6 separate regions of the Homo sapiens genome follow, and regions 1, 2, 4, 5 and 6 are each linked to region 3. The links are contacts of gene promoters, found by promoter capture Hi-C in blood cells and fetal thymus (Javierre and others, 2016). All regions are on one chromosome and are shown on one strand. The core of a region is centred on a gene start or on the middle of the fragment in contact, and the rest is flanking DNA. Distances in the headings are between cores, read along the strand shown.

What was found. The method cuts DNA at HindIII sites, captures the fragments that hold promoters and counts their contacts. A CHiCAGO score of 5 or more calls a contact.
Region 1: a contact is called between a fragment that was not itself captured here and the fragment with the promoter of SMCO1 in region 3, in 5 of 17 cell types (endothelial precursors, M2 macrophages, M1 macrophages and 2 more). The highest score is 9.6, in endothelial precursors.
Region 2: a contact is called between a fragment that was not itself captured here and the fragment with the promoter of SMCO1 in region 3, in 4 of 17 cell types (endothelial precursors, M2 macrophages, erythroblasts and 1 more). The highest score is 13.2, in endothelial precursors.
Region 4: a fragment that was not itself captured here is called in contact with the fragment with the promoter of SMCO1 in region 3 in 1 of 17 cell types (endothelial precursors); the score reaches 5.7 in endothelial precursors.
Region 5: a contact is called between a fragment that was not itself captured here and the fragment with the promoter of SMCO1 in region 3, in 1 of 17 cell types (endothelial precursors). The highest score is 5.1, in endothelial precursors.
Region 6: a fragment that was not itself captured here is called in contact with the fragment with the promoter of SMCO1 in region 3 in 1 of 17 cell types (endothelial precursors); the score reaches 5.0 in endothelial precursors.

The regions. Positions count from the first base shown.
Region 1 is chr3:196,220,927-196,223,799 of GRCh38, reverse strand. All of the region lies in intron 2 of SLC51A (solute carrier family 51 member A), which reads right to left. Among named protein-coding and RNA genes, the nearest start is that of SLC51A, 5.8 kb to the right of the region's middle. The HindIII fragment of the contact is 1,709 bases long and covers 474-2,182 here.
Region 2 is chr3:196,023,731-196,026,430 of GRCh38, reverse strand. It overlaps LOC124909478 (a long non-coding RNA gene), which reads left to right. Exons shown (of 5, transcript XR_007096234.1): 3 at 2,473-2,625. Among named protein-coding and RNA genes, the nearest start is that of TFRC, 57 kb to the left of the region's middle. The HindIII fragment of the contact is 4,121 bases long and covers 1-2,700 here.
Region 3 is chr3:196,514,096-196,516,795 of GRCh38, reverse strand. SMCO1 (single-pass membrane protein with coiled-coil domains 1) reads left to right here and starts at 1,450. Exons shown (of 3, transcript NM_001077657.3): 1 at 1,450-1,636. The coding sequence starts at 1,587. The HindIII fragment of the contact is 1,040 bases long and covers 1,429-2,468 here.
Region 4 is chr3:196,046,412-196,049,264 of GRCh38, reverse strand. No RefSeq gene overlaps it. Among named protein-coding and RNA genes, the nearest start is that of TFRC, 34 kb to the left of the region's middle. The HindIII fragment of the contact is 5,207 bases long and covers 1-2,853 here.
Region 5 is chr3:196,190,243-196,193,195 of GRCh38, reverse strand. No RefSeq gene overlaps it. Among named protein-coding and RNA genes, the nearest start is that of ZDHHC19, 20 kb to the left of the region's middle. RefSeq lists enhancers at 69-732, 688-757, 1,718-2,336. The HindIII fragment of the contact is 5,680 bases long and covers 1-2,953 here.
Region 6 is chr3:196,950,150-196,953,183 of GRCh38, reverse strand. It overlaps PIGZ (phosphatidylinositol glycan anchor biosynthesis class Z (Gwada blood group)), which reads left to right. Exons shown (of 3, transcript NM_025163.4): 2 at 1,153-1,363. The coding sequence starts at 1,153. Among named protein-coding and RNA genes, the nearest start is that of NCBP2AS2, 9.0 kb to the right of the region's middle. RefSeq lists a silencer at 1,532-1,826. The HindIII fragment of the contact is 3,758 bases long and covers 1-3,034 here.

The DNA of each region.
Region 1 (2,873 bases), core at 79-2,578, 290 kb after region 3:
CTGTAGATGATTTTTTTCTCTTTTTACTGTTCTGTATTTTCTTTCTTTCTTTTTTTTTTTTTAACTAAACCTGAATGATTTTTATAATAGAAATGTTTAATTAAAAAAACTCAGACAATAGGCAAAGTCCAGATAGGAAAAAGCCAACATTAATGCAGGTGGTTTTCCAAAACCAATGTTCTGTGGTTGGGAAGCGGGGGCCATTGCTAGAGCCTCTCTTACCCCCAGCCCCGTGTGCTCATCAGCCCTTGGAGAGCGTAAAAACTGCCCTTTCACACGCCACCAACCCAGTCCTTCCCAGTCTTCATTTCCCTAACTGCTCCCTGCTCCGTGAAAATCTCCATTCCGGGTAACGTTATGTCCTCCTTCCGCCCACATCAGGGCTATTTGTATTTACACAGCTGTTTACTCGCTTATTCTCGGCTCTCCACCTTGTGGTGCACACTCCACGGAGGCAGGGACCTTGTCAAGCTTGTGCTCTGTTCTCAAACGCCCGGAGGAGTAACGGCTCTGTAACTATTTGTTGAATGAAAGAAATAACCTATGAGAATTCCTATCATCATCTGCATTTCATAGACTTTTTCAGGAAACGAGGCTCAGAGAAGGAAGCACATCTCCCAGGGTCACACAGCCTGGAAGTGAAGGAGCAGAGATTTAAACGCAGGTATTCGTGACTAAGCCCACACTCTTATTAACCATGACACACAGTGACTCCAGGTGTGTGTACTCGTGGATATGGGAGAGATCATCAAAGGCAACCCTGGGAGGGCCGTTCCATTTATGAAGGTGAGGGTGGGGCAGATTCTGACTGTTCAACACAAATGGTTTTGCAGTGTCTTCTAACTGTTGCCTTTGGTACTCTAATTAGGAAAGGAAAAGTTCCTTAGCATCCATAGCCCGATACTGGGTCTGTCCATCAAACTATCTTCTTAGGAGATGGCCTCTTCTTTGCTGGTTAAACTCAATTTCCCCAAAAGGGCATCTAAATAGACACTATGGGACAAAAGTATTCCACAGCTGAAGAATTTTTGGAAATGCATTAAGGTTAAATGTGATGATTCCTGCAGAGCATACTGACATTTTTAATCTGCTAATTTACATTGTAAATTTCCAAAAGGAGGGTCTAGAACGCACCTTTTACAAAACTTAACTTTTTTTTTTTTTTTGAGATGGAGCCTTACTCTGTCGCCAGGCTGGGGTGCAGTGGCGCGATCTCGGCTTACTGCAAGCTCCGCCTCGTGGATCCAAGCAATTCTTCTGCCTCCGCCTCCCAGGTAGCTGGGATTACAGGTACCCACCACCATGCCCAGCTAATTTTTGTATTTTAAGTAGAGATAGGGTTTCACCATGTTGGGCAGGCTGGTCTCAAACTCCTGACCTCAAGTGATCCACCCGCCTCGGCCTCCCAAAGTGCTGGGATTACAGGTGTGAGCCACCGTGCCTGGTCACAAAACTTAACTTCCTACAGAACTCTGTTTCCATGAAGGACTCCTTGGGATTAAGAGTCTGAGACTTTGGGAAATGCTTGTCTAGTTGACCATTTTGAATATAATCATACTTATAGCAACTATTAAATTTCCCACTGTCTCTGGAATAGCAAAGACTACTTTTTAAAATAATGAAAACAGGAACATTAAATAAGAATTTGAAAAAAGAGTAATCACCCATAATCCCAGCTTTCTAACCAAAAATTATTTCCATGCTTGCATATTTGCTTCCAGTAGCTTAGGAGCACAGTGTAGAGCACTGGAGTCAGACACTTGAGTTCAAAGCAAAATGCCAGGCCGGGCGGGGGGGCTCACGCCTGTCATCCCAGCACATTGGGAGGCCGAGGCGGGCGGATCACGAGGTCAGGAGATCGAGACCATCCTGACTAACACGGTGAAACCCCGTCTCTACTAAAAAATATACAAAAAATTAGCCGGGTGTGGTGGCGGGCGCCTGTAGTCCCAGCTACTCGGGAGGCTGAGGCAGGAGAATGGCGTGAACCTGGGAGGCGGAGCTTGTAGTGAGCTGAGATCACACCACTGCACTCCAGCCTGGGGGACAGAGCGAGACTCTGTCTCTTAAAAAAAAAAAACAAAAAACCAAACCAAACAAACAAACAAACAAAAACAAAGTAAAATGCCACTTACTAATAGCTCTATGGCCATAGACAGGTTACTTATCCTCTCCTTAAGCTTCTTAGCAAAGCACCTGGCGTGTAGTATTTGTTCAATAAAAAGTAGCTTTAAGGCCGGGCGCAGTGATTCACGCCTGTAATCCCAGCCCTTCAGGAGGCCGAGGCAGGAGGATCGCTTGAGCTGGAGCGTTTGAGATCAGCCTGGGCAACGAAGTCAGACTCTGTCTCTACAAAAATTGAAAGTTAGCCCAGGCATGGTGGTGTGTGCCTGCAGTCCCAGCTACTCGAGAGGATGAGGTGGGAGGATCACTTGAGCCCAGAGCTCGAGCTGCCGTGAGCCGTGATTTTAAAATTAAAAAAAAAAAATTGATTCAATCATTCTTCTAGAATAATAGCTTTTTTTTCTCTCTCTCTTTTTTTTAAATTGAGACAGGGTTTCGGTCTGTTGCCCAGGCTGAGGCTGGTGGTGCAATCATAGCTCACTGCAACCTCGACCTCCTGGGGTTGCAGCATGGGCCACCGTGACTGGCCTGAAATAGTTTTCTTAGCATTTAATTTTAAGTTCGAGACCAGCCTGGGCAACATGGAGAAACTCCACCTCTACAAAAAAATACAAAAATTAGCTGGGCTTGGTGGCATGTGCCTGTGGTCCCCAGCTACTAGGGAGGCTGAGGTGGGAGGATCACCTGAGCCCAGCAGGTGGAGGGTTGGGGTAAGCCGAGATCGCACCACTGCACTCCAGCCTGAGTGA
Region 2 (2,700 bases), core at 175-2,674, 490 kb after region 3:
TCACATGCTAAGCACACATTAATTTCTCTTATCCTTTATTCCCACCTAGTGTGCGGGTGGTTTTGAGAGGATCCTGTACGGTATGGTCCTCAGGTGCTTGGCAAAATGGGTCCACCCCCTCCCGGGTAACCCTGGCTCTAGGCCCTCTTCCATGTCCTGGCCTTCCCCAGCAGTCCCCTGGAGCCCTCTGGCGACCAAAACTCCACAGTGAAGCGCCGCCTGGAGTGGTGGCCGGTGAAGGGTTCCCAGTTCGGGACACGTTATTCCTCTTCTGTAAAAACTGCACCACTTTCAGCTAGACTCTCAGGCAAAGGCACAGAAAATTACCTGATTAGATTCATGATCTTTTAGAGGTTTCCTATCGCTGAGGTCATCTGAGCCAGCAGTTTTCAAAATGAGTTGACAGCTTCATATCCTAAAATGTTGCATTTAAATTCCAGTTAAAAATAGTTTAACTACTGTATTTTTCCATTCTAAGACAGATTTTTTTCATGCTTTGCTTTTTCTGGAGTTAGCATGCATCTTATAATTGATACACTTCATTTAATATGATGGGATCTCTTCTGTTCTTCTAAAAAATTATCAATACATTTGTGATGAATATTGGTTTAATAGCATCTCAGAATGTAAAACATCCAGGTTGCAATCATTACCTCTTCTACAATATTTAGGTGAAGAAGGTCATATTTCTTTCTTTTTTAAGTCAAATTATATCTAGCAGAAACTCCCATATATCAAGATGTGGAAGATTCCAATTCACGGAGGTTCCTCGTCATATTCTGTGCCAGACACTGGAGGCCGGTATGGTGGGACTTCATGCTCCGCACCTTCCTGTCTCACTACTTTTCCTGTGACTGCCAATTGCTGGCCCTTTACTCTGAAGGGGGTTAGAGGACGACTGCCTCTGGCATTGGGGAGGGGATACTCCTCACAGCACAAGAAGTGGCAAGAAAGCAGCTGACAAATGCTGGAACCTTGGCCACACCAACCACATCTGGGGAATTGCATGTGACTAGGGCCAAGCCCATTAGGAATGCTCCTTTTCTGGGAACATCTCTCCAGTATCTTCGTTTTGATTTCCCATTGGCTAGTCCAGCTTACCCCCTTAGATTATTCTAGATCTCCCCAGAAAATACCTGGGTAAGAGTTATCCAGGCAAATTCTCTTTTCCTCCTTTTAACCCTAAAGGCTATATTGGGTGTATGTGTGCACGTGTGTGTGCGTGTGCGTGTGTGTGCATGTGTGTGCCTGCGCGTGCGTGTGCTCGTGTGTGTGCGCGTGTGTGTGCGCTCATGCGTGCATGGGTGTGTGTGTGTTACAGAGAGATCTAATCTGCAGAAGCACAGCTTCTGGGAAAAGGGAAAAGGGCTGCTTTATTTCCTGATGCCTCCAAAGCACACACAAAGAAGATATAAGTTAGTACTTGCTCTAATATTCCATCTGTAACATTGAGCATTTAAAAGTCATAATAATACATTAAAATACCATGCCCATACAAGTGCATTTAAAATGTAGCATTAATGAAACAATTAAATGTCCCAACTTAACCTGTCTTCTTGCAAGCCACGAAATAAATTTCTCCCACTATCTCTATGTGTATGTTTACCATTTGTGCAAATTTACCACTGAAAAGAGATTGTAGACAATTTTTATTTTGATAGCAATCCACTCATGTAAAATTACACACAGAAATACTACTATAACCCATGTGTATTGCAAGATCCAATTAAATGTAAACCAAGGCCCATTTGTTCATGCATGTGTTTTTATGATTTTGTCTGTTGTTTCTCTGACTTACATATTTATAATACAGAATGTGAGAAGAGTGAGCTCTTTGTAGTTATTTAGCTTTAAGGCATAGACAACTGTTTTAGAACCTTTAAAAAGCAATTGCAGATTTTTTTAAAAGTCTCTTGAAATTACAAGTCCTTTTTAAAAATTATTATTCTTTGAAACTACTTTTCTGTATACATCAAGATTTATCAATAGCATATGAACAAAATAAAACGGGACAGGATGGTAATGGCCACCTCATATTGCTTATTTCTTTTATAATAACTAAGTCATATAAATTGAGCTCACAAAAATATTTATATTAATAAAATTATAATTTATCATTGGTAATGTCTGAGTTTTTCTTGTACATTTTTATGTAGCAAGAAAAAAATTTTTACTGTTAAAAATGGTTTTTAAAAAATCGCAGCAAGCCTAAGCCCCTTCATTTTACGAACACAATAACCTGAGGCTCATCAGGGCTGGTGACTCACACAGGCGCACACTCAGCATTGCTGGATGTCGGCTCAGGATCCAGAATGCATTTGAACAACTCACGCTAAGTTAATAAACGCACTTTAAGATAAGCCCATATTAATCCCAAAGTAACTAAACTTGTGGAATTTGTAAAAGAAGATGTTTATGAACGAGGACATGGCATTTCCACATTACTTCTGATTCTCCCCTTTCTAAAAGCAGAATCTACGGTCTCTATTTTCCCGTTGCGAGATTTCAGCGGAGAGCCTGGTGGCACTTACAGCAGACATCACAGATGCCTCAGCGTTTCGGATGAGGACAGTAAAGACCTTCCTTGCTTCATGAAACCTTCGTTTTCCAGGGGAGAAAACACAGGTTGAGTCTAAACTCAGTCCTCCTGTTGAAATATTTTAATGACGCTGAAAGAGGCTGTTGCGTTTGGCAGGTGCG
Region 3 (2,700 bases), core at 201-2,700:
AACAGCTCACATCTGTCCAAACTCCTTACCAAGCTAGCTAGAAGCATCCCCTCTCTTATAAGCCTTATGTGCTGTCTCCCTGCTAGTATGTTCCTTGAGGACAAGGATTTCGCCTTACTTATCACTATATTACCAGTGCCTGGAATAGTGCTGCTCATCCATTCGTAGGTTTTATACATTCAATTAATATCTATGATGCTCAGTAAATATTGAATAAGTGAATAAAGTATTCAGTGAAAGAACAAATACGTGACATGGCTCTTACCAGTTTAAATGGTGTGGTTATTTTCTTTTTCTTATATGAATCTTTTGCTCAAAACATACCTACTCATTGTTTCCTGAACACATCATTTACTTTGCCACCTCTGTGATTTTGCTCACACAATTTCTCCAGTTCGTAACACCCTTAACACTCTTCTCTGATAATCAAAGACCTTGACCTTTAAGGCCAAGCCAAGTACCACCTTCAGGGTGAATATCTCCCCAAGGACCCAAGATTTCAGTGACTTAGTCTCTCACCTTCTATTATTTTTATGGTCTCTATCTACTTAGCACACATCCCATATACATTTTCTATTTAAGGATATATTCTTTCTTCCCAACTAGATTTTAAATCTCATGAAAACAGCAGTCCTATTTTATTTCCACATTTATATTCAATTCCTAATCTAATATATATATAATTATATAAAATTATATATATATTTTATATACGATATAAATTATATATTATATATAATTATATGTATAATTTTATATATAATTATATATATATATATATATATATATATATATATATATATATATCCTATCCTCTTGCCCGGGCTGGAGTGCAGTGGCATGATCATAGCTCACTGCAGCTTCGAACTCCTGGGCTCAAGCAGTCCTCCCACTTCAGCCTCTTGAGTAGCTGGGACTACAGGCATGCACCACCACTCCTGGCTAATTTTTGTATTTTTTGTGGAGACAGTCTCGCTCTGTGGCCCAGGCTGGTCTTGAATTCCTGGGCTCAAGCAATCCTCCCACCTTGGCTTCCCCAAGTGCTGGGATTACAGGAGTGAGCCACCATACCCAGCCATAACAAGTATTTAGTAGTTTCTAATGATAGTTAGATTTTTTGCTTTGATATCATCATCATAAAAGATCTGGGGCACTCTTCAAACCTAATTTAGGTTGTAATTGAATAATGAAGCAGTTAAAATATGACAGTAATATTTCCATCAAACTTAATCCTATACGTTACGTTAATGTATCTGTATATACATTTACCATAATGTACACAGTCATTAATTATACATGGTTGTTGCTGTATGTTAATGTACTATGGTTCAGTTTTCAAAGGCAAATGTTATAGTGCATTCCAGGACACCTGTGTCCACGAGATAAGTTCTTTGAAACTATATTTGGATCTGCAGGCTATTAAAAGCTTCTTGTACTGAGTGACCTTTCAGGCAGAATGTAGACTGAGCGCTCCTGCTACTGCTGCCTGTTGCTGAGAGGAAGACCGCAGAAAATTCTGGATTCAAACATTTATTGCTTTTTTTGTTTTGCTTTGTTTTTGTTTTCTTTCCTTTTGCCTTCAGAAGATGAACAATGAAACCACAACCCTGATATCCTTGAAGGAGGCAATGAAAAGGTTGCTGAGGGCTATAGGGAGGGAGCAAGCATGGGTCTGCTATTCTGGGAAGATGGGTAAGAGAAGAATGAAGAATAGAAATAAAGAACTGCAGACATGCTCATTAGAATTCTGTCTCTGTGGCCGGTGCGGTGGCTCACACCTGTAATCCCAGCACACTGGGAGGCCGAGGTGGGCGGATCACAGGGTCAAGAGATTGAGACCAGCCTGGCGAACATGGTGAAACCCTGCCTCTACTAAAAATACAAAAATTACCCAGGCATGGTGGCGGGCGCCTGTAGTCCCAGCTACTTGGGAGGCTGAGGCAGGAGAATCACTTGAACCCGGGAGGTGGAGGTTGCAGTGAGCCGAGATCGTGCCACTGCACTCCAGCCTGGCAACAGAGCAAGACTCCGTCCAAAAAAAGAATTCCGTCTCTATTACAGTGGTTTAAGTCTTCCAGGCCCAAACCTATGTAAATTAACAATAAAGAAAAGTCTGCTCCCAGGTGCTGTAACTCCATTGAATGTATGCATATGCTAAATCCTAGATTTACAAAAATAAGTAAAATGTGGTTTCTGCCCTCAAGGAGCTCACAGCCTGTAGGAAAGAGAAAAGTTTGAAAAACATTTACAATTTAATGTGACTGACCTTACAATGGTGATGTTCCTAAAGGTCTATGCGAACATGAAGGGAGGATCAACCAATTTTGCCTTTGACACTAGAAAAAGGAACTCTTCATATAGGGTCATTTAAGCTGGATCTTAAAGTGCAAGTAGGAGCTTATGAGGGAGAAAAATATGGGAAGGCATTCTAGGCTGAGGAAACAGTGCATATAAGCCATATGTAAGCTTGGAACCACATAATGTATTCAAGCAGCAACTAGATGTCTCGTGTAATTGGTAACTAGGATGGGTGAGGGGACTGGTGGAAGACAGGAGCAAAGGGTGAAGGCCCTTGACTTTCCTGCTGAGGAGATCCAGTTTGCCTCTGAGTATATCACTGGGCAAGCCAGGATGACATAAACCATTTGTAATCAGTTGAGTCACAGAATCGGAATTGTGTTTTAGAAGAATGTGTCTGGA
Region 4 (2,853 bases), core at 185-2,684, 470 kb after region 3:
AATTTTTTAAAAAGAGCAGTTTTAGGCTCATAGCAAAATTAAACAGAATTCCCACACATCCACTGTTTCTGCCACTTACACATCCTCCATGACGGTCAACAGCTTGCGCCAGAGCGGCATATTTGTTACAATGGGCAGCCTACACGGGTGCACCATTAGCACCGTCAGCATCATTAGTCTACTGTTTACGTTAGGGTTTGTTCTACGGTTTTTGACAAATATGTAATATCATTCTAGTAGCTTACAGAATAGTTTTTATTGCTGTAAATCTTGTGCTCTGCCCATTCATCCATCTCTTCTATAAGGCCCTGGTAACCACAGATCTTACTATATCCATAATTTTACCTTTTCCAGACTGTCATACAGTTGGAATCAGAATATAGCCTTTTCAGATTGGCCTCTTTCACTAAGCAATAGCATTTGTTTCCTCCATGTCTTCATGACATGATACCTCATTTCTTTTTAGCACAGAACAATATTCTGTTGTCTGCAGTTACCATAGTTTATCTAGCTCACCTACTTACTAAGTAATCTTGCTTCTAAGTTTTGGCAGTTATGAATAAACTGATAAGCACCTGTGTGTATATCTTTTCTGTGAACATAGGTCTTCAGCTCTTTAGGTAAATACCAAGGTACATGATTGCTGCTGTCTTCTAAGTGGGCGATCTCAGCCCACTGCAGCCTCCGCCTCAGGCAGTTCTCCTACCTCAGCCTCCGAGTAGCTGGGATTACAGGTGTCTGCCACCACGCCTAGCTAATTTTCATATTTCTAGTAGACGTGGGGTTTCACCATGTTGGCCGGGCTAGTCTTGAACTCCTGATCTCAGGTGATCCGCCTGCCTCAGCCTCCCAAAGTGTTGGGATTACAGGCGTGAGCCACCATGCCCAGCCTCTATTGGCAATTTCTAAATATACAATATATTGTCACCATATACCACATATGTAATTTTATTTATTTTTGAGACAGAATCTTTGCTGTCGTCCAGGCTGGGGCGCAGTGGCGCTATCTCGGCTCCCCGCAACCCCCACCTCCTGGGTTCAAGTGATTCTCCTGCCTCAGCCTCCTGAGCAACTGGGATTACAAGTGTGGGCCACCACGCCTGGCTAATTTTTGTATTTTTAGTAGAGATGGGGTTTCACCATGTTGGCCAGGCTGATCTTGAACTCCTGACTTCAAGTGATCTGCCCACCTCAGCCTCCCAAAGTGTGTGATTACAGGTGTGAGCCACCACCACGCTCTGCCTCCTTTTTTTTTTTTTTCCCGAGACAGTCTCGCCCCATCGCCTAGGCTGGAGTGTAGTGGTGCCATCGCAGCTCACTGCAACCTCCACCTCCCAAGTTCAAGCAATTCTTGTGCCTCAGCCTCCTGAGAGGCTGGGATTACAGGTGTGCTCCATACCGTGTCTTCAAACTCCCTTGTACCTCAAGCAATGCACATCTCAGTTTTGGCTAGCCACATTTCAGGTGCTCAGTAGCCACATGGTTAGTGGACACCAGCTCTATAGCAAAAGGCGTAATTGTTGAGAGTTTTCTTATTTTGGCCTTCTACCGTGTGGTTACCAAAAAATCCATCACACAATTGAATCTCATTGCTATGAGTGCCAGCCAGGATTCTTAAGTATGGCCACGAAAATTGTGGCCCCTAGAATTGGAAGCCTAATTGCCTCACCTATGCCCCAGCTTTCCCGTGTCCAAATTAGCCACATTCATACCCTTGAGAAGCAAGATGATTATTAAACTGCTGTATTCTACGGGAGAAACTGCCTATGTGAAAGGTCATGGGTTAGGAAGCTGTCCTAAACAAATATTTGTAAAACACCTGGTTATCTGCAAGACAGCTTTGCCTAGAATTCAATATCAGATACCAATGTCTTCCTTGTGGCTGTCAACAGGTTTAGGTGCTGAGTTAAATAAAGCCTTTGCAGTTTGCTGCATTTGCCCTTTAAGCTGCCTCATGCTTAATCCACCCCAAATGGACAGCTTTGTATAATTTTCTTTTCTTTTCTTTTTTTTTTTTTTCTGAAATGGAGTCTCATTCTTGTTGCCCAGGCTGGAGTGCAATGGCGTGATCTCAGCTAACTGCAACCTCTGCCTTCCAGGTTCAAGCGATTCTCCTGCCTCAGCCTCCCCAGTAGCTGAGATTACAGGTGCATGCCACCATGCTCGGCTAATTTTTGTATTTTTAGTAGAGATGGGGTTTCGCCATGTTGGCCAGGCTGGTCTCGAACTCCTGACCTCAGGTGATCCGCCCGCCTTGGCTTCCCAAAGTGCTGGGATTAAAGGCGTGAGCCACCGCACCTGGCCAGCTTTGTATAATTTTTAATGCCTTTTTTGAAAATATTCACATACGGTCAAAGTGCAGAAAAGTCTGTATTAAAAAGTATTTTCCTCTTAGTCTCCAGAGTTGTCATCCCTCTAAATCTCCACAATTACCAATTTTTCTTTTTTTATTTTGAGATGGTCTCGCTCTTGTCACCCAGGCTGGATTGCAGTGGCATGATTTCAGCTTGCTGCAACCTCCGCCTCCTGGATTCCAGCTATCCTACCTAAGCCTCCTGAGAGTAGCTGGGACTACAGACAGGCAACACCATGCCCAGCTAAGCTAATTTTTGTATTTTTTGAGAGATGGGGTTTTGCCTTATTACCCAGGCTGGTCTCAAACTCCTGGACTGAAGTAATACACCTGCCTCAGCCTCCCAAAGTGCTGGGATTACAGGTGTGAGCCACTGGGCCTGGTCATTTACCGATTTCTTATGTACATTTTCAAAGTTGTCTGTGCATAAATGAGAATTCTATACCAGATCTTCCTAAAAGCATATATGGGGGCTCTGGTTCCACAGTCACCACATAAGC
Region 5 (2,953 bases), core at 246-2,745, 320 kb after region 3:
GCGGGTTTCCCTGTGGCCCTGACAACAGAGGTAAAGGGTGCTGCTTCGGACACGAGGTCTTTGTTACTGTTTTACACAAAACTCCCCAACACTGGTGTCTCCAGGCCAGAAGGGATGGGGGCATGGGCTGAGATTCTTCAAGGGAATGAGAAGAGGGTCACCCAACAACGGCTCTGCCTCCTGTTAAGAAAGCAACTGCTGCTTCTGCTTTGTGGCCAGGCAGTGTTTCAGGCTGAAGGAAGGCAAAAGCAATGGTGTTCCGAGCTCTGTTCCAGGGTGGCTGCTCACAGCCTCCGCCCTCCCTGCTCCTCACCTGACCTCCCCCGCAGGCAGCGTCCCAGGCTCTGCCTCTCCACGTAGGCCTCTGCCTCACCTCTTCTCACCTTTCCACGCTTGCCTCCTCCCTTCCCCTTGCTCCTCCTCCTGTCTTTCTCTTTCTCTTCACACTCTTCTGCTCTCCCTCGATTGCTCTCTCCCTCCTTCTCTCCCTCCCACTTTTCCTGAACCACAGCTTCCAGGAACACAGAGGCAGCTGTCTGACAGCTTCTCACGTCCTGGCTGCGGTTCCAGGAAGGCCCTGGTCTGGGCATGGAAACCCAGGGCACTGTCCACCAGGCTGGAGGCGGGGCCCGCACAGGGCACCTTCGTCTGCCTCTCCCTGGGGCTTCCGCCTCCCACCTGGGCACCCACTTTCCCAGCAGCTTTCTGCTTGGGGAAGTTCTGCTGCTGAAACTGGGGATTCCCAAAGTGGAAGGGGCCCTGCTGAACAGCCAGCCACCTCCCTCACTTCTCAGCAAGAAGAAAACCAAGGCGGTGGGGGACGCAAGGCGGGGCTTCCCCAAGATCACACAGCTGAGCAGAGGCCAGGCCAGGGGGTCCCTGATCTGCCACCTGAGTCCTGGGCCCTTCCTGCCACCCCACGGAGAGGAGACGCCTGGGTCAGAGGCCCGGCCTGTCAACAGGAAGGGCACGTTCTTCCTCCTAAAGGCCTAGTGATCTGACTCCAGTGTAGCAATGACAGCAATGACAACACAGTTGAATGCTAATGGAGGTCCAGGCCTGGGGAAGCACTCGGCCTGCGTTTGCTCACTTAGTCCTCAGCCTCCTGAATGAGGCGCTGCTGTTACTCTTGTGGGTGTCTCGGGCCTGCAAAGACCAGGTGTGCTGGGCTGGGGGCTTCAGGACTACTGTTTTTTATTTTTATTTTTTTATTTTTTTGAGACGGAGTCTCGCTCTGTCGCCCAGGCTGGAGTGCGGTGGTGCGATCTCGGCTCACTGCAGCCTCTGCCTCCCGGGTTCACGCCATTCTCCTGCCTCGGCCTCCCGAGTAGCTGGGACTACAGGCGCCCGCCACCACGCCCGGACAATCTTTTGTATTTTTAGTAGAGACGGGGTTTCACCGTGTTGGCCAGGATGGTCTCGATCTCCTGACCTCGTGATCCACCCGCCTCGGCCTCCCAAAGTGCTGGGATTACAGGCGTGAGCCGCCGCGCCCGGCCCATTCAGAGCTACTCTTGCACTGATCTCCTGCGATTCCTTGACTGAGTGACCAGGGAGGAAGGTCCATGGTCTGAGGACAAGTCCTGAGGTGAACAGGGCTCCAGGCAGGATTTATTCCATGGCCCATTAGTATCCTTTGGCTGAACCTGAGTCATGCTGAACCTCATCTGTCCCCGAGTAGTGGTGGAGGCATGAGGTCAGCAAGTGAAAGCACTGACCCCTGGGCAGGGCCCTGGGCTGTCTGGGCTGGGAGACTCCCCCAGTCAGATTTAGCTCCTAGATGCCTGTTCCTCAGCCCCTAATGGGAGTGGAAAGATCCCTCCTGCCTGCCTTTTCCTGGCAGGGCAGTAAGCGGCTGTGTAGGGAGCACAGGCCGGGCATCCGGAGAGCTGGGTGGACAGGTGGCTCTGCTGCCAGCTGGATGTGTGGCCCTGGATGAAGCCCCGACCTCTCAGAGCTGCTCCGATCTCAACGTGAAGTTGAAACCAAACTCCATGCCCGGCCGACCTCACAGTGCGCTTGTAGGATCAGAAGGGTACATGATGGGCCGGGCATGGTGGCTCATGCCTGTAATCCCAGCGCTTTGGGAGGCCGAGGTGGGCGGATCACCTGAGGTCAGGAGTTCAAGACCAGCCCGGCCAACATAGCGAAACCCTGTCTCTACAAAAAATACAAAAATTAGCCGGGTGTGGTGGCGCACACCTGTAGTCCCAGAGGCTGAGGCAGGAGAATTCCTTGAGATACGGAAGTGGAGGTTGCCGTGAGCCAAGATCGCGTCATTACACTCCAGCCTGGGCGACAGAAGAAGAAAGAAGAAGAAGAAGAGGAGGAGGAGGAAAAAGAAGAAGAAGAAAAGACGAAAAAGAAGAAGAAAAAGAAGAAAAAGAAGGGAGAACCTTCATGGACTTGTATTCCTTTTCTTAGGCCAGGTCCAGGTGGGTGTGCGGTGGTTGTAAAGGAAACAGTGAGAGGGTCTGACTCAGGCGTGGGGACCTGGAGGGAGAAATTCCCTTTCTCTTCTGTCTCCATTTTCTCTCCTTGGGCCCTGAGCCTTTTGCAGGCTCTGAATTTAGATTATCTGGGGGGTGGGGGTGGTGGCTCATGCCTGTAGTCCCAGCACTTTGGGAGGCCGAGGCAAGTGGGTCATGTGAGTCCAGGAGTTCGAGACTAGCCTGGGCAATATATTGAGACCCTGTCCCTATATAATAAAATAAAAAATTAAATTAAACAGGGCATTGGGAAATGGTCAAGTCCGAGGATGGGCCACCTCATTCTGACTCCCAGGCAGACGGCCCGGCTCACCTTTCTTGGGTGACCTTCTCAGCTCCCTCTCTTCCCCACCAAGTATCTATCCCTAGGGGAAGGAGCTGGCCAGACTTGGATTTGGGGCAGAGATGGGGCCCCCTCTGCTCCCAGCTGGCGGCATAGTCTGTTAGCCACCCACAGCCCCCGG
Region 6 (3,034 bases), core at 192-2,691, 440 kb before region 3:
ATTCTCCAGAGAAACAGAAACAATAGGGAACTGGCTTTATCATTTACTATGAAAATTAGCTCATGCAATTATGGGGGCTGGTGAAGTCCCACAATCTGACACCTGCAAGCTGGAGAACCAGGAAAGCTGGTGGTTGAATTCAGTCTGAGTCGGGAGCCTTAGAAACAGAGGAGCCTACAGTGTAACTCCCAGTCCTAGTCCGACGGCCTGAGAGCTTGATTCAGGGAGGTGGGTTGGGGCACACTGGTGTGAGACATAGAGTCTGAAGACCCAAGAACCAGGAGCACCGATGTCTGAGGCAGGAGAAGATGGCTATCCCAGCTGAAGAGAGTGCAAATTCACCCTTCCTCCACCTTTCTGTTTTATTCAGACCCTCAATGGGTTGGATCATGCCCACCCACACTGGTGCAGCTGATCTTCTTAGTCTACCAATTCAAAGGCTAATCTTAGCTGGGCACGGTGGCTCACGCCTGTAATCCCAGGAGTTTGGGAGGCCAAAGTGGGCGGATCATGAGGTCAGGAGTTCAAGACCAGCCTCACCAACATGATGAAACCCCGTCTCTACTAAAAATACAAAAATTAGCCGGGCGTAGTGGCGTGTGCCTGTAATCCCAGCTTCTCAGGAGGCTGAGGCAGGAGAATCACTTGAACCTGGGAGGTGGAGGTTGCGGTGAGCCCAGATCATGCCACCGCACTCCAGCCTGGGTGACAGAGCAAGACTTCGTCTCAAAAAACAAACAAACAAAAAAACCACAACAAAGGCTAATCTCTCCCTGAAATACCCTTATAGACACTGCCAGAAATAATGTTCTACCAGCTATCTGGGTATCTCTTAGGCCAGTCAAGTGGACACATAAAATGAACCATCAGACTCCTTAGCAAATATGATCAGCAAGTAACCAAGTTACTCAGCAGAGGCCTCCGTTTCCCCATCTGTACAACAGGGATCCTAAGACCCACTGCTCCAGACTGTGGAAAGGATTAAATGAAATATGCATGTCACGTGCCTGGCAGTTAGTGGGCATAGAGTATGAAGTAGCTATTATTATTATTGTCATTTTTATTAAATGACAGATCCATTTTCAGTTTGTTCAGACAGTTGAATATATTATAATTTACATCGTGATAACCAACAACTGTTATCCTCAACAGATGCAGATCTGTGGATCCAGCGTAGCATCTGTAGCAGCTGGGACATCATTCCAGGTTTTGGGCCCGGTGTGTTGGCAACAACTGGATCTGAAGATGGCAGTCAGGGTGCTTTGGGGTGGTCTCAGCCTGCTCCGAGTGCTGTGGTGTCTCCTTCCGCAGACGGGCTATGTGCACCCAGATGAGTTCTTCCAGTCCCCTGAGGTGATGGCAGGTAAAACTCCGCATGTGTGGCTGAGACAAGCTGCAGCAGAGTCTGCTTGAGAAGCTGACGGGAGACTTTGTGGGGAGGGAGTAGCATGTCTGGGTAGATGAGTAGTAAATCCACAAGCAGAGCAGCAGCCTCTCTCTCTGGGGTAAGAACTTGGAAGTGGGGACTTCATATCTCCTTCCCGAGTGGTGACACTGACCTTCTGGGTAATGCTAATAAACCACCAGTCTCTTTGATGTATCCCTGCTTGGACCAACAATACAGGTCATTCAGAATGAGAGCTGTGTTGGACTTCCCATGGGAACACTTTTATTAGAGTTAGGCTTCCCCAGTGTTTGGCAAGAGCTTCCATAGGGCTGTGATCTGAGATCATGAAACTTCTCTTCTGTAGATTCAAGAGAGGGGTAAGGGAACCCAGACCTGGGACACTCACTCATCTGTTAGGCGGTGTGGGACACATCATGAGGCTGGTTGCCTGGCCCATACCGTCTCGCCCAAAGGCCTTGAGGCCTTTCAGATGTGATGGGCATGTGGGGTCATCCTCATAGTTCAAGACGGCTGCTTGAGCTCCAGCCATCAAGCCTACAGGCAGTCTTTCCAGCCAACAAAGGAGAAGGGCATTACTTCTCTCTTTAAGGTCATATTTTGAAGGGCGCATGCTTTTTGCTCATTTCTATCACACTGGGCAGAATGTATCATGAGGCCACACCTAGCTGCAAAGGAAGCTAAAAATTATAGTCTTTATATCTGACCAAGTGCCCAGAAAAAGAGTCAAAGGAGTCAGATGCAGTGGCTCACGCCTGTAATCCCAGCACTCTGGGAGGCTGAGGCAGGTGGATCACCTGAGGTCAGGAGTTTGAGACCAGTCTGGCCAAAATGATGAAACCCCATCTCTATTAAAAATACAAAACATTAGCCTGGCATGGTGGCAGGCGCCTGTAATCCCAGCTACTTGGGAGGCTGAGGCAGGAGAATTGCTTGAACCCAGGAGGTGGAGGTTGTAGTGAGCCAAGATTGTGCCACTGCACTTCAGCCTGGGCAACAGAGCGAGACTCCATCTCAAAAAAAGAAAAAAAAAAGTCTAATGAAGGAGGAGGGAATAGATATTTTGGAGGCATCAGCTTTCTTTGCCACAGGGCTCAACAGGTGAATTTGTTTTTTAAGTTAAAAGGCTCATCTTCTTTCCCTCACGTCGTTTTTTAACCAGAAAAGCAGCCAGATAGATTTGATCCTGGATTTTGCTTCCCTTTCAACATCTAACATAGATAGATAAAACAGCTGAAAGTCTGGAGAAATAAGTAGCAGAATCAAAGAGCCCGAATGATCCGCAGGCTGTATGATCAGCTCGAAACAGCCAGCAGGTGATCAAGCAAGAGACGCTGTGAACAATGAGGCTTGGAGTGGAGCTGCTCCCGCGCCCCCACCCCTCAGAGCTCTGGGACGTTGGGGCACAGGGTTACAGAACAGGCAGCAAGTATTTCTTAAATTATGTAAGTACTACTTGGATATATTCTTCTTACAAAAAATTTAAGTATCATAGGCAGGGTGCAGTGGCTCACGCCTGTAATCCCAGCACTTCAGGAGGCTGAGGCGGGTGGATCACCTGAGGTCAGGGGTTCAAGACCATCCTGGCCAACATGGCGAAACCCCATCTCTACTGAAAATACAAAAATC